Regions from separate parts of the Homo sapiens genome. Here all the other regions are linked to region 2. Evidence: promoter capture Hi-C in 16 types of primary human blood cells and fetal thymus (Javierre and others, 2016). All regions are on one chromosome and are shown on one strand. Each heading gives the region's core, a stretch centred on a gene start or on the middle of the fragment in contact. The rest is flanking DNA. Distances are from core to core; before and after follow the strand shown.

Region 1 (4,787 bases), core at 1,174-3,673, 90 kb after region 2:
GACATATAAGCAGGCAGATTCAAGGAACACTCAGTAGCTAAAATGAACAGGACTTTGTGATTGATTCAATATGGGAGTGATGTAGTTATGTTCCCCAGGAAGCAGACTCTCAAACAAAGATTACTGTGGAGGATGTTTACTAAGGAGCGTTCTTGGAGTTAACACCTGTGCAAGAGAGAGGATGAAAATAGGATTGGGCAAAAGGAGAAGCTGAGTAGTAATTCAGTCCCAGCAAAGACCTCAGTCAACCATATGAAGGGTTCTAGGGGTGTGAGCATCTTTCAGAGTTGTCCACCACTGGGTTGAGGGGATTAAACTTTTATACCTCTGTGCTGATCGGTCATTGGATATAGAATGCCCAAGAAAGGGAGCATAACCTTGGATGAGCTGGCTTTCTTCTGCTTAGGCAACTCCTGAAGGGTTATGACAGCTGAGGGCCATCTTTTAGGAGCACTCTCCACAGCTGGAAAATAAATCCTCCATTTTTGAAGAGGGTTCTGGGCTTTGCATCACAGCATCCAGCGCAGGGGTGAAGGAGCATAGGGGAGTAAGGCATCAATAATAATTCCTAAATTTCTGATTTGTACATCCTGGTGGGTGCACTTAACGACCATATATTACAATCATTGGCTTGCTTGGGAAAATCCCACTAGAGTAGGTGCTACTGAGGGGCAAACTATATTGGACAACTAGTGCATACCCCTAGAACTGGCATAGTTTGCTAAATAAGTGAATGTCCATCTATTTCTATTTTCACTCCCCTCTCCCTTACATCCTTTGCTCCCTTCCCTCCTCATCGTACTGTCATCCAATGTGGGAAAACTTGAGCAGGTTATCTGAGGCCCCACCTGTGCTGGAGCGGAACAAATAGCAAATCAAGCTCCTCTGGTCCAGGCTCTCTGATGGGCAAGACAGGCAGTACCAGGAGGAAGGAAAGGGGGAGCAGTTGATGACATCTCAGGCATAAACTGTCTTTCAACTCTCTTTCAATGCTTCAGCCCCTATAAACTCAGGGCTGGCTGAACCAGGTCCTCTCCAAAAGATTAATTGGATAAGGGCCTGCTGAATCCCCCATAAAGCCAGACTCCATTCTCTAATTTGCTCTTCCACTGATGCCCGCCCCCAACCTCTTACAGCTACTGCTGGGGGTCAGAAGAATTTCACATCGTATTGGAGTTCATCCGGAATCTGAAGAATGGATAGGAATCTGGAGATAGGAATCTGGAGATAGGAATCTGGGGAAGAAAAGGAATGGATAGGAGAATGCATAGGGAGCAGGGCTGAAATAGTAGAAGAGGCAAATCCTGCCCCGAGAAGCTGAACCCAGTTCAGTCCTGCACCCTTCAGCCCTGTTCCCGCTGCACCGCAGTGACCCAGTCCCCTTCTAGCCCCCTCTCGTGGGAACCTGACACCCTACACAGGCAGCTCTGCCTGCACTGAGAGCAAACAGGGAGCGTTAGCGTGTCGGGTGGGCGTGGGCGCTGCCTGGAGACGGTGGAGAAAGCCAACCTTCTCCTTCTCTTTTGCCTGCGCTGGGCCGGCGTTAGAATTATATCCCATCCTCACCTTACTCTGGTTTATCCTTGTCAGTGCTTGCCACCACCCCCAACTGCCCTCAACACTCAAGTCAGAAGCTTCCTCCCGGGAGCCCTTTTCCCTGGCAAGGCTTCCCTGGAGCCAAATCTCGGCCCCGGCCCCACCCCCACTCCCGCCCAGCTGTGGAGGGCTCCTTGGGACCCTTAAGTGCAAGCCTGAGTGTTAAGCCTCAGACAGGAGATGGAGGGTGCGGAGACAGATGCAGGAGCTACCCCAGGCCCGCAGCGAGGAGCTGCAGGGAACTACGGTAGCAATAGTGTCACGGTCACTGCGGCCACTGCAACACAGTACGGTAAATGCGGCTCTAGGCTCAGACTAAAGCATCCGCGCCTCAGCAGGTGACGCACGCAGACCTGGTCTCCAACGCCACCTCCACGTTCCCTGATACACCAGAGAAAGATGCTGGATCCGTGGCAGCCGTCTCTACCCAACCCCTCCTACCCTCCCTTCCCCGAAACCTCCCCCTACGCTGCCAATACTCTTGTCTTCAATCTCTCTCTCTCTCTCTCTCTCTCTCTCTCTCTCTCTCTCTCTCTCTCATTCCTGGGAATCGGGGGTGGGGGCGGGTGATAAAGAGAGGTGGGCAGGAGAGAAATCTCTAAGAGGAGACGGGACACATCTAGGGAGGGGGCGAGCCTGGAGGACAGTCGCACAGGGAGGGGCAGAACTCCCGAGCCAGGGAGGGGGTGCACAGTCACCTGGCGGGACAGAGGCTGGCGGAGGGACGGGAACCCAGGCGGGGCGAGCCGCGGGAGAGTGGAGGGCAGGCGCCTGGGCTGGGGGCGGGGACCAGGCGGGGCAGGGGGCAGGGAGAGGAGGGCGGCGGGAGCCTGAGCCGGAATCGCAGCGTGAGCAGGTGGAGCCGCGTTGGGAGCCCGCCGGGTCGAGCTGAGTAAGGCGGCGGGCTCGGCGGGGGCCATGGAGCTGCTAAAGCTGAACCGGAGCGTGCAGGGAACCGGACCCGGGCCGGGGGCTTCCCTGTGCCGCCCGGGGGCGCCTCTCCTCAACAGCAGCAGTGTGGGCAACCTCAGCTGCGAGCCCCCTCGCATTCGCGGAGCCGGGACACGAGGTGGGTGCCTCCCTCAGCCCCCCCCACAAGCTATTTCTCACTGTACCCCAGAACACTAATAGAGTCCCCCCAACGAGCTCCACACTACCTTCTCAAACGTCCACACCGTGCCTCTCATAGTACTCCCTCAGCCCCCAAACAGCTCCCCTCACACCTTCACCCCCACAGCCTACAACTTCATCACAGCTTCACACCACCTGGTCGGAACTCCTTCACATCCTGGTCCCCTGAATACACCTAGAGCCCCTGCTCACCCCAAAGCACAGCCCCTTCCCCAACACGCAGCCCCTCCTAGACACCAGTCAGAAGGCGAGGACCTCCTCTTGCCAACCCTGCAGATCTCCTTTTCCCTCTTACATCCAGTTCACAGAGCCACAACAGAGAAGGGAAGGAAGAAAGGAAGGCAGGACTGGGAAAAGAAGGGGGCTGGTTGAGGGAGGGAGCACTCTGGAAAGCTTGAATGCGAAGCTGAAGTTGTGATCACATCTGACACCCCAGCCCCCAGCCATCCCAAAAAAGATCCTCAAATCTGAATTAGGCTGGACACTAGGGGATGCTCCTTAGAGCTGCCTGCCTCCATTTCACTCCTTCTCAAACCCCTCTGCCTCCCTAGTTGGAGCTTTCGAGGCTCTGTGCCCTCTCTCTTTGTCTGCAAGTAATGTCTCCAGCTATCTTCCAAGCTCTCTCTCCAGCCCTAGGCTAGGTGCTGGGGGCACAGGGCAAACTAGACCCAGTCTGGACCCTCATGGCCCATAGCCAAGTGCAGAGAGAAACCAAGCAAATGGAAAAATCACAGACACAATGGAAGTCCCATGAAAGGGTCTAAACTGTGGGCACCAAAAGAACTTCACAGAGGCTAGAACCTTAGAGCTGGGTCTTGAAGTTGAGTAGGCAGAAAAGGAAGGAGTGGGATTCTAGGTGAAGGAGCAATGTTAAGCAGAAGGAAATTTTTCTAAACTCAAAAAGGGAAAGTTGGAATAAATTGTAATCCAAGTATTTATTTACCCCACGAAATAATCTATGCTTTCTCAGCCGAGTTGTTACACACTCACACTTGGATTCTGTCATTCAGCCAATATTTATTGAACCAGAGATTGTGCTAGGCAGTGGGAATGTAAGTTGAACAAAACCGACACAATTCCTACTTCACAGAGCTCAAAGTTTAATGGGCGAGACAGAAAAGCAGGGGATTGCAGCACAAAGTGGAAGAGCCTTGACAGGGAAAAGATAGTGGGAACACAAGTGGAACACCTCTAGCCCAGCCCAGCCTCCTTGAGAATTAAAGTTGGCCTCTTGAGGAAATGAGCTACAAAGTCAAAAAAATTAGGGAGGCTGGCTCTAAGCTTCCTGTTGGCAAAAAAAAAAAAAAAAAAAAATATATATACACACACACACACACACACACACACACACACACACATATACATATGGGAGAGCCAGCCAAGTGAACGGGCAGAAGAGGCAGAAAGCATCCCAAATAAAAGGACAAGATGTATAAGAAGCTCAAAGTTTGAATTCATGGCACTTTTATCCACTGTGACATAGTTTTGAGTGACTAGAACATATATCTTAAGAAGGGAATAATGAACAGGCTGGAGACCAGCCTAGAGGGTTTGCAGAGAGCCTGCTAGGCCTGACCATGGAACATGGACTTTCTCCCGAGGGCAATAGGAACTACTAAAAGATTCGGTAGTACTACCAGGATTAGTTCTATAATGTGGAGAACGGATTGGAAGACATAAGATGGAAGGCAGGGGGATACTTTACAAGGTTACTATATTACACTGTTCTGGGTGAAAGATGATGCTAGCTGAGACTAAGGTAATGGCAAGGGAGATGGAGAGAGGTGGATAGATTTGAGAGCCTCTTCTGGAAATGGAATCAACAGATTAGAAGCAGAGAGGATGGAAGAGGTCAAGGGATGACATTCAGATTTCTAACTTGGACAACTGAATGGATATTGGTGCTATAGCAATTGTATACAATGAGAAAGATAACAAAACAGCAGAAACAGGTTTGGAAGAGGGAATTATAAATTCAGTTTGGAACCCATTGAGTTTAAATGTTAGTGGGGCATCCAGGTGAGGTTACCTAGTAAGCTGTTGAATCCAGGGGTCTGGAA
Region 2 (4,224 bases), core at 1,279-3,778:
AATAACCCTGTGAAGGTAACCTATAAAGTACCCATTTTATAGATTTAAAAATTGAGAACCAAAAATGTTAAACAAACTGTGCAAGTTCGCATAGCTAGAAAATGATGATGACAAGACTTGAGTCCTGATATGAGTCCAAATACTATCCATATACTTATTTAGTGGTACAATCAATATAAATATCAACCAATAACTTTTTGAGTATCAGCCCTAAGAGGAGAAAGTTGAAAAAGACTATAGGGTTTCCAGCTCAGTGAAGTTGATGGGATCATCATAATCTAGTTCCCAAGAAATGAAATGTAGGAAGAAAAGTGGAGTGGGAGTTCTACATCCTAGGAAGAATAACCAGTTAATAGGTGGATTTATGTGTCTAACACTCAAAAGAGAGCTTTAGACTAGAGACAGGGATATGGGACTCATTAGTGTTGGTGGTGGCTAAAGAAATGAGTGTACATGACCTTTTCTGGAAAAGCATAAAAGAATAAGAGTTGAGACTGTGAATCCCAAGAGAGTACTCCAATTTTGCCAACCTGGCCATGAACAATGTACTATAATTCCTAATTCTGGGTCTGGTCAAAAACTAGATATAAGAGAGAATCAAGAGTACCCTGTTTCCTCCTACTTTGTCTTTTCGCTGGTCCCTGAGTTACAGCAGAGAGAAGTACTGCAAATCAGCAGTTGATTTGGCTCAATTATGCCAAACTGCCTTCATGAGGAGCTGATTTACTAATCACTGGTTTTGTGAAATAATTTAGCTGGTCATTTCAGTGTACCATAGAGATGCCTGTTCTGATCTCAAGGAGATAATTGCGCTCCCATTCATTTTTCAAAAATGTAGTATGTGTCAGGCATTTTGTAATGCATTGGGGATACAAATATGAATAATATACACTCTTCTGATTTCAAGGAGTTTGCAGTCAATTGAGGGTACAAATAAATGAACAACTCATTACATTACAATTTATTATGCACATTTGGAGATTTGTACAAGATACACTAGACATGCAAACATAGGACCCTTGGCTTGCCTGGAGAAATTAGAAAAGACTCAACTTTTCTTGAACTAAAATTTGAAGGAAAGGAAGTTTTTCCAGATGACCAAAGGTCATGCATGGCTGTTCCTCAAACTCACCTGCCATTGTGGTAGTGGGTGGCAGGCCACTTGATTCTGTACAAAGAATCAATGCACATTTGGGATTTTTTTAAAAAATTAAAACCCCTTAAAATGGTAAATATAAAATTATTTTTATCCACTTCTTTATAACCTCATTTCATGTGGTGTTCAGATCCCTGCGCTTCTGGCGTCTATCTAGTCTACTGAGGGTACCAAAGCCTCATATCAGAGGCATGTACACTTAGTTATTATTTCTGGGTTGTAGGGAGGAATATGTAAAGAGGTTAGAGAAAACAAACAAGAGAAGGAGGAAGAATTATGAGAAAAGAAAGAAAAGTTGGGGGCGGAAGATGAAATAGAAAGAAGAGGAAGAAAAGCCTTCTCAGTCCAGGAAATCTCTGTATTTCACATCTAGCTTCCTTGAAGGAGCTGGACATGAAGATTCATGAGCCCAGAGGGGAGGTACAGCACCAAGTCTTGATGTCAAAGAACCGGTGGGCTACACCCTCACGTATCTGCTTAGTCTTCACACCATAGACAATGGGGTTCAGCATTGGTGGCACTGCCACATAAAGATTGGCCAGCAAGATATGGACATGTTGAGGAATATTACGCCCAAAATGATGGGTCAATAAGGTAAAGAAGGATGGAACATAAAACATAAGGATGACACAGAGGTGGGAGCCACAAGTGCTGAGGGCCTTGTGCCGAGCATCCTGGGAGGGCAAACGAAACACTGCTCGGAGGATCAGTGAGTAAGACACAGCGATGAGGATAACATCCAAGATGACCATGACAATGGGCACTGAGAAGCCATACCAAATGTTAACAGTGATGTCAGCACAGGCTAAACGAGCCACTCCAATATGCTCACAGTAGGAGTGAGGAACAATGTTGGTTAGGCAGAAGGGCAGCCGCTTCAGCAAGAATATGACTGGGAAGATGATGCAGAAGCTTCGGGTGATGACGGCCAGAGCAATCCTCCCCACAACAGGCCATGTTAGCACTGTTGTATATCTCAGTGGGGCACAAATGGCCACAAAGCGATCAAAGGCCATGGCTAACAGGATAGCTGACTCCCCCACAAACATCATATGGACAAAGAAGCCTTGGGTGACACAGGCATCAAAAGCAATGTTATGTGCTTGAAGCCAAAAGATGGCTAGGGCCTTGGGCACAGTGGTGGTAGACAGCAGGATGTCCATGACGGCCAGCATTGAGAGGAAGAAATACATGGGCACATGAAGGTTACGTTCCATGACAATAACCACTATCAGGATGCTGTTTCCCAGGACTGCAGTGATGTAAATGAGGCAAAGAGGTATTGACAGCCAAATGTGATAAGCCTCCAACCCAGGGATGCCAGGAAGGACAAAAACTGCAGGATGGAAGATGGTAACATTGGTGTGACTCATGATGCACTTTATGGTCCTCTCTATAATGACTTAGAAGCTGATGAGTCTACTGAAAGTGATAGAAACAGAAAGCACTCCCGAATATGTATAAATATCATAAAAGACAGCATGGATTTCTAAATTGCTGGACTCTCCAGCAGCAAGTACTCCCAGAGAATGTTCACTTGGTATAGGAATGGCTTCTGGCCCATAGTGCTTCCTTTGCAGATAGAGCTTCTGTGGCAATAATGCTTCAAGTATGAACAGAAGTGGCAGCACCTTCCTGCAACCACCCTGCCCCCAGAGTTTGGCCTCACTCTCCCTTTCTGACCTCATTCTACTATTTCCACACAAGCAGCATTTTCCACCTACCTGTGTTGTACTTGTCCCTTTCCCCAAGATTTTGTTCTGCATTTACCTTTAATTTCCCTCCCCTTCTACTTCTGTTTAACAAAATTTTAACCTTAAAATAAGTCCTCAAGACATACCACTTTGTAATGGTCTGTGTTCATAGCAATATATCTCCTTCCTAAAAAACTATTAACTAAACTATATTTTAACTGGGTTATATTTAATCCTATTAAGTTTATCTGGCTATTGCCTTGAACATTTCACAGGACACTTGCACCTCTGGCCCCTTGTGCAAGGGAGTAGAGTATCAAGTGGGAATCCAGAGGAAGCCTAGAGGGGTACATTTCTCCACTCTGATCCAGATTCATATCTTCCCTAATGCAGTGAGCAATGGGGCAGCCAATGAAACTGAGACAGGCAATTTTCATCACCAGCTCCTCATGGACTTCTCATGCTCCTCCTCAAATATTTCTATACAGGAGCCTCTTGGTTATGTCTGGGCTTCCTTATCTGTAGAAGCCCCCCAGGAAAACGATTCTGAGCAAAAGAAATCAATCTATTGCCCACCTGTAAACTCTGCTGACTCCACTAATACTGCCCTTCTTCCCACCCCACTGTTCCCCAACGCTCAGAAGGAACCATGTTTCCCTGCTGCCAAGAAGGATTAAGTATAGAGCCCTTCTTGGCTTGCCTGCCACTCAGGTAATATTTGTTTCATTCTGAAGTTCTGAACTATCTGTCAGCTATTAGGACTAGGGAAAGAGTGTATGATTAAGAATCTAGAAGGGAACATGAAGAAAAGGGACCACAGAGACAGTAAAGAGAGAATCAGAACTATAAAGGTACCAAATAAACACTAGACTGATCTTCTGATAATGGTATTCAGAGGGCCCCAAAGAAGAGATGCAAAGGAATCAAATCCTCAGTTTATTAGTCCATCCCTCTGCCTCTATGCAAATGAACTTTCTCAGAGCACAGTGGGCTGTGGGGAGGGAGCAATGGGACTCCAGATGGGTACAAGGAAGGGAATAGAGCCAGATCCAGACAAGTAAAGGCCGCAGGCAGGCTAATAATCTGACAGCATTCAAGTCAGTATATTTTAAATATTTGGGCCAGGCACAGTGTCTCATGCCTATAATCCCAGAAGTTTGGGAGGCCAAGATGGGAGGATCGCTTGAGGCCAGGTATTCAAGACCTGCCTAGGTAACATAACAAGACCCTGTCGCTACAAAACAATTTAAAAATTAGCCGGGAATGGTGGCACGCACCTGTAGTCCCAGCTACTTGGAGGCGGAGGCAGGAGGATCTCTTGAGCCCAGGAGTTTGGGGCTGCAGTGAATGAGCTATGATGGCACCACTGCACTC
Region 3 (4,751 bases), core at 1,473-3,972, 110 kb before region 2:
GATCACTAATACAATTGAAGAGATTGTTGGAAGCAATGGCTGCAATGGTATGAAACATGCTGTACCTGTTTCACTGCCTGCCTCATGGATATGTAAGGATGGCAGTGGACTCCTTTGCTTTATACTCGAATACCATAACCTCACCTGCAGAAAAGCCCATGATTTTCCTTCTAGGGAGAGAAACCTAGAAGATAACCGTGATCTGTATTGCATTTTATGTTCTGCTAGGGGTTCTGTTTATGGGGTCCTATAGTCCTCCGTGCAGATGGCTGGCAAATTATACTTGGAGCCTAATTTTCCAGGTCAAATCTCCTCATGGATAGGGGAAGGGAGTAGGAAGAAATCTCAAGATCTAGAATTAAGGGAAGGGAATTGAGGGTCTCTTGTTTGTCCCCTGGTCCCACTTGTATTTTCCAACCATGAATAACCAGACAATCCTGGATATGGAAGTTACTGGGTTCTAATTGTTATGATTTTGACCCCTATTTAATTCCTTGTGGACATTCGCTACTGCTAAGAGTGTGAATGGGCTAGCGAGAAATCTGCACTTTTAATCTCTGACAGCACTACTGAGCTTCTTCCTCTCAAAAACGTACCCTGTCTCCTCCAGGTGGAGAAGGATCTAATTCTAGAATGGGAGATCTGTTCCCCTAGTCCTACATAGAAAATGACACTAAAAATTATTAAAAGGAAAAACTGAGCACTCACTGCAGAGGTATCAATTTTGTGTATTCATTGACTATAATATTTCTTATCACAAATAATTATTGAGGGTGTATATTGTGTTGAAAAATGACAGGCACTTGGTAATGAGAAGTACATGGAAGACAAAAGAATCCTGCCTCCCTGAAGCCTACAATCTAGCATGAAAGATATACACAGCACAAGTAATATCACAAATTTTGCTAGAATTGTAATCATTCCAATTCAAGACATTGGATTGCAAACACTGTTTACTTCCTCTCTCTCTCCCAGTGTACCCATTAAATTGCTAAAGAAATATAAAAATGAAAATAATGCAATAACAATATAGAATATGAGCAAATATACTTGGATTGCATCATATACTTTGAGAAATTTTTGGAATTCATAAATCAGACTAAATTGGATTCATAGAAAAACTGGGACCCAAAAACCTGCAAACCAATGTGTAGTTATGTATATGTGGAGGGTGGGAACTATAGGGGAAGAGGAATTGGAAAAGTTAAAGCTTGATGCAGGGCTGGGAAATGTTCTCATTAAGAGATTCAGGGTGCAAACCTCATCATTACACAATATATCCCTGTACCAAACCTGCATATGTAACCCCTGAATCTATTTTTAAAATCTAAAAATTTTAAGAGATCCCAAGGGATACTCCAAGTTTAAAATCAATAAAATGATAACAGTAATTGAAAGCAATTAATTAGTGCATTGATTAATTTATTGTTATTCTACTTCCAGCAATTGGATCAGTTTAGTATGAAACCTGGCTCCCTATAAAATGCAAGAGGCAACTTTGTATCTTCAAACCCTATAATTGCAGTGGGGCAGATGTAATCAGAGGCAATTACAAGGTAACTTTGGTTCTCCAAGTTACAAATAGAGAAAAGGTATGGAGAGGCAGCTCCACAGGTCAGCAAACTATACCAGATTATCTCTGATTGCAGATATAAAAGCTTCTCTACTTCAGCAAAAGATGAGGGAATGCAGCTCATCTTTCATTTTCCTCTTGACAGCCTGAGGAGAATTCTGTCTGTTAGCAAATCCGTGTACAATGACCTACAAAGTCCTACAATTGGGGCACAAGAGCAGTGACCTTTACAGGCTCTGAGAAAACTCACAGCGAGGACCCAACCATTTAATTCTCATCTACAAACAAATAAGAGTAAAAATCTACAAATAATTGAGAAAAAACTAGTATCGTGAAGAAAGGACCAGGCTGAACAAGCGGAGAAACTCATCCCTTAAAGAAAAGAGTAAATGCAAGAAAAAAGTCATTTATAATATGCATAATAAATATTTTAGAAATGTCCTAATTTATGCATTTTGATGTGGCAGAAAAGTAAAGGAATCTAAGTCATCCTAAAAGACACGAAAAGGTTCATCTAAAGGGTTAACACTAGCATTTAGCTGAATGGCTGTACCATGTAAATGTGCTGCCAGCACAAACTTAGAGGTTTGGAAGACACTCTAAACCTAAAACCAAGCTGAGGGTGGGACTTCCCATTGCCATTCCAGAGAATGTTGCATAGTCTATCACTGGGCAATGGCAGGAAAGATGACACATCCAGAGCTGTCATCCATTTCTACTGTCCTCAAGTCTCTCTGACACAGGAGTAGGAAAATGTTGGAATCAGGAGCAAAAGAAAGAATGGAAAAACTATTCACAAATTCAGGTATCCAGATACATCCCAATAAGCTGTGAAGCCAGGTGCCTCTGGATATTCTTTGCTGTGATATGTGACACTAGAAGGACTGCTCGCTGTGAAAATTACCCCATCCATATAATCTGCACCAGCCATGAGTTCCTGGCTATGTCCTGGCAGGTGCCTCTGAAGGAAACAGTGAGAATATATTCAGGTCAATCCTTTAGTGTAAACACCCTGAGCACTCACTGGTGGATCTTCTGGGTCTTCACCCCATAGACAAGAGGATTGAGTGCAGGTGGCACAAGGCGATACAGTATGGCCAGAAGAACATGGACGTGATGGGGTACATGATGACCAAAGCGGTGAGTGAGGAAGGAGAACATTCCCGGGATATAGAAGACCAGGATGACACAAACATGAGAGCCACATGTGCTAAACGCCTTAAGTCGGGCCTCATTTCCTGGTACCTTCAGCACTGCCTGGAGAATGTGGGCATAGGAAACACCAATGGCCAGGACATCCAGCCCAACCACAAGCAAGGCCACAGTCAGCCCATAAGCTCGATTGACTGTGGTTTCTGAGCAGGCAAGTTTCACAACAGCCATATGTTCACAATAGGCATGGCCTATGATGGTGGCTTGGCAGAAGATAAGTTTTCGCAACAGAATGAGGAAGGGGATGAGGAGTAGTAATCCCCGCACCAGCACCACCATTCCGATGTGCCCTATGACCCCTGGATGCAGGATCGTGGAATGGTGCAAGGGGTGACAAATGGCTACATAGCGATCCAGAGCCATGGCCACAAGTACCCCTGACTCCATGGAGGAGAATGCATGGGTGAAGAACATCTGGATCAGGCAGACAGTGTAACCAATCTCTTGGGCACGAACCAGGAGCACTGCAAGGGCTTTGGGTGCAGTGGAGGAGGCCACAACCAGGTCGATGGCAGCTAGCATGGACAGGAAGAGGTACATAGGTTGGTGCAAGGATGGGTCCATCCAGATGATGAAGAGAATGGTAACATTGCCCACTAGAGCAAGGAGGTAAAGGATGCCCAGGGGCAGTGCGATCCAGTGCTGGCTTTCCTCTAAACCCGGAATTCCTACCAGGAAAAAAGAAGGCTGGGGTAGCCTCCAGCTGGAATTGCTAAGCGCCATTATCAATGACTTGAGGAGGAAAGAGAAAAAAGAATCCAAATTCATGATTTCTGCATTTCTGGTACATTATCACATAGTCCAGATCACATTGTCTACCATCTTCATGAGAAGAATAAAGTGACTAAAACTGCAACCAAAGGGAATAAAGTTAGATACAAGAAAGAAAATCTTTGGTGGAGATAAATTTTTTTACAGGTGAGACATCCACATGTCTGAATTAGAATAGGTCTAGTTTTTTTAGAGATAAGAGTAAACATACACTGTTTTGGGAGAGATGCATAAGCTTTAACCATTCAGTTGCTTATGTTTTGAAGCTGCCAACTTCAAAGGGTTCTCTTTATTAGCCTCTTGGCGTTACTGAACACAGTAAATTAAACTGTTGTTTTTGAAATTAGCCTCCCTCAGTTTCCGTGAAGTGGCACTCTAGAGTTGTTTCTCCTATAGCCTCAGTCCCACCATTTTCTCCATCTCATTATGTTGTTGATTCCAGGGATCCATCCTCTCCTCTTTTCCCTATTCAGTACATTATCTCTGAATTGACCTCATCCACTTTCATAGTTTTATCTATCTACTTTTATTTCTTTCAAATCTGTGTTTCTAAGTCAAATATCTTTCTGAAACACAAATCATTCTTTCCATTTGCTTCCTGAATAGCTATACTATAGCCTCAACATATTCAAAACTAAATTAATTCATCTATCCTTCTTAAATCTGTCCTACCTACCTTTGGCAATATTTTTATGAATTACATTACTATCCATCTACCAAACCCAATCTAGAAACTCGGAAACTATCTTTACTTATTCTTATCTCTCATCCCTTTTCCCCATTCGCCAATTCCTGTTAACTGCATTTTTAACACATAGCTGTTATATCCACTCCTGTTTTCAACCCCCGATGTCAAACATCCAACTTCTCTCACCTGTACTGTTTCATTACATCTCTCTGCCTTTGCTGTAAACATCTTCCCAATTCACTCTCAACCTTAAAGTCAGGTTTTTCCTAAAATGCAGATGTCGTTATGTCGTGCCTATGGCTAAAATCCTTCAGTGAATCTATTGCATGGAATAAAATCATACTCTTAAGACTGCATTAAAGGTTTTCAAGGGTTATCTATTGTGTATTACTTTGGTCTTACAGTTAACATATTTCTACATGTATGTTTTACTAAACCATTCCAACATTCTTGGAGTTATATGACTAAACTCTCCTATTTTACATATGCCTTTTGTGTAGTCTTTCT

What was found. The method cuts DNA at HindIII sites, captures the fragments that hold promoters and counts their contacts. A CHiCAGO score of 5 or more calls a contact.
Region 1: the fragment with the promoter of CCKBR here is called in contact with the fragment with the promoter of OR52B2 in region 2 in 1 of 17 cell types (monocytes); the score reaches 5.2 in monocytes.
Region 3: a contact is called between a fragment that was not itself captured here and the fragment with the promoter of OR52B2 in region 2, in 3 of 17 cell types (monocytes, M2 macrophages and M1 macrophages). The highest score is 6.4, in monocytes.

Annotation. Positions count from the first base shown.
Region 1 is chr11:6,257,415-6,262,201 of GRCh38, forward strand. CCKBR (cholecystokinin B receptor) reads left to right here and starts at 2,424. Exons shown (of 5, transcript NM_176875.4): 1 at 2,424-2,665. The coding sequence starts at 2,515. The HindIII fragment of the contact is 1,486 bases long and covers 1,633-3,118 here.
Region 2 is chr11:6,167,798-6,172,021 of GRCh38, forward strand. It overlaps OR52B2 (olfactory receptor family 52 subfamily B member 2), which reads right to left and starts at 2,529. Exons shown (of 1, transcript NM_001004052.1): 1 at 1,558-2,529. The coding sequence starts at 2,529. The coding sequence ends at 1,558. The HindIII fragment of the contact is 5,039 bases long and covers 2,067-4,224 here.
Region 3 is chr11:6,054,723-6,059,473 of GRCh38, forward strand. It overlaps the pseudogene OR52L2P. Among named protein-coding and RNA genes, the nearest start is that of OR56A1, 26 kb to the left of the region's middle. The HindIII fragment of the contact is 2,133 bases long and covers 1,657-3,789 here.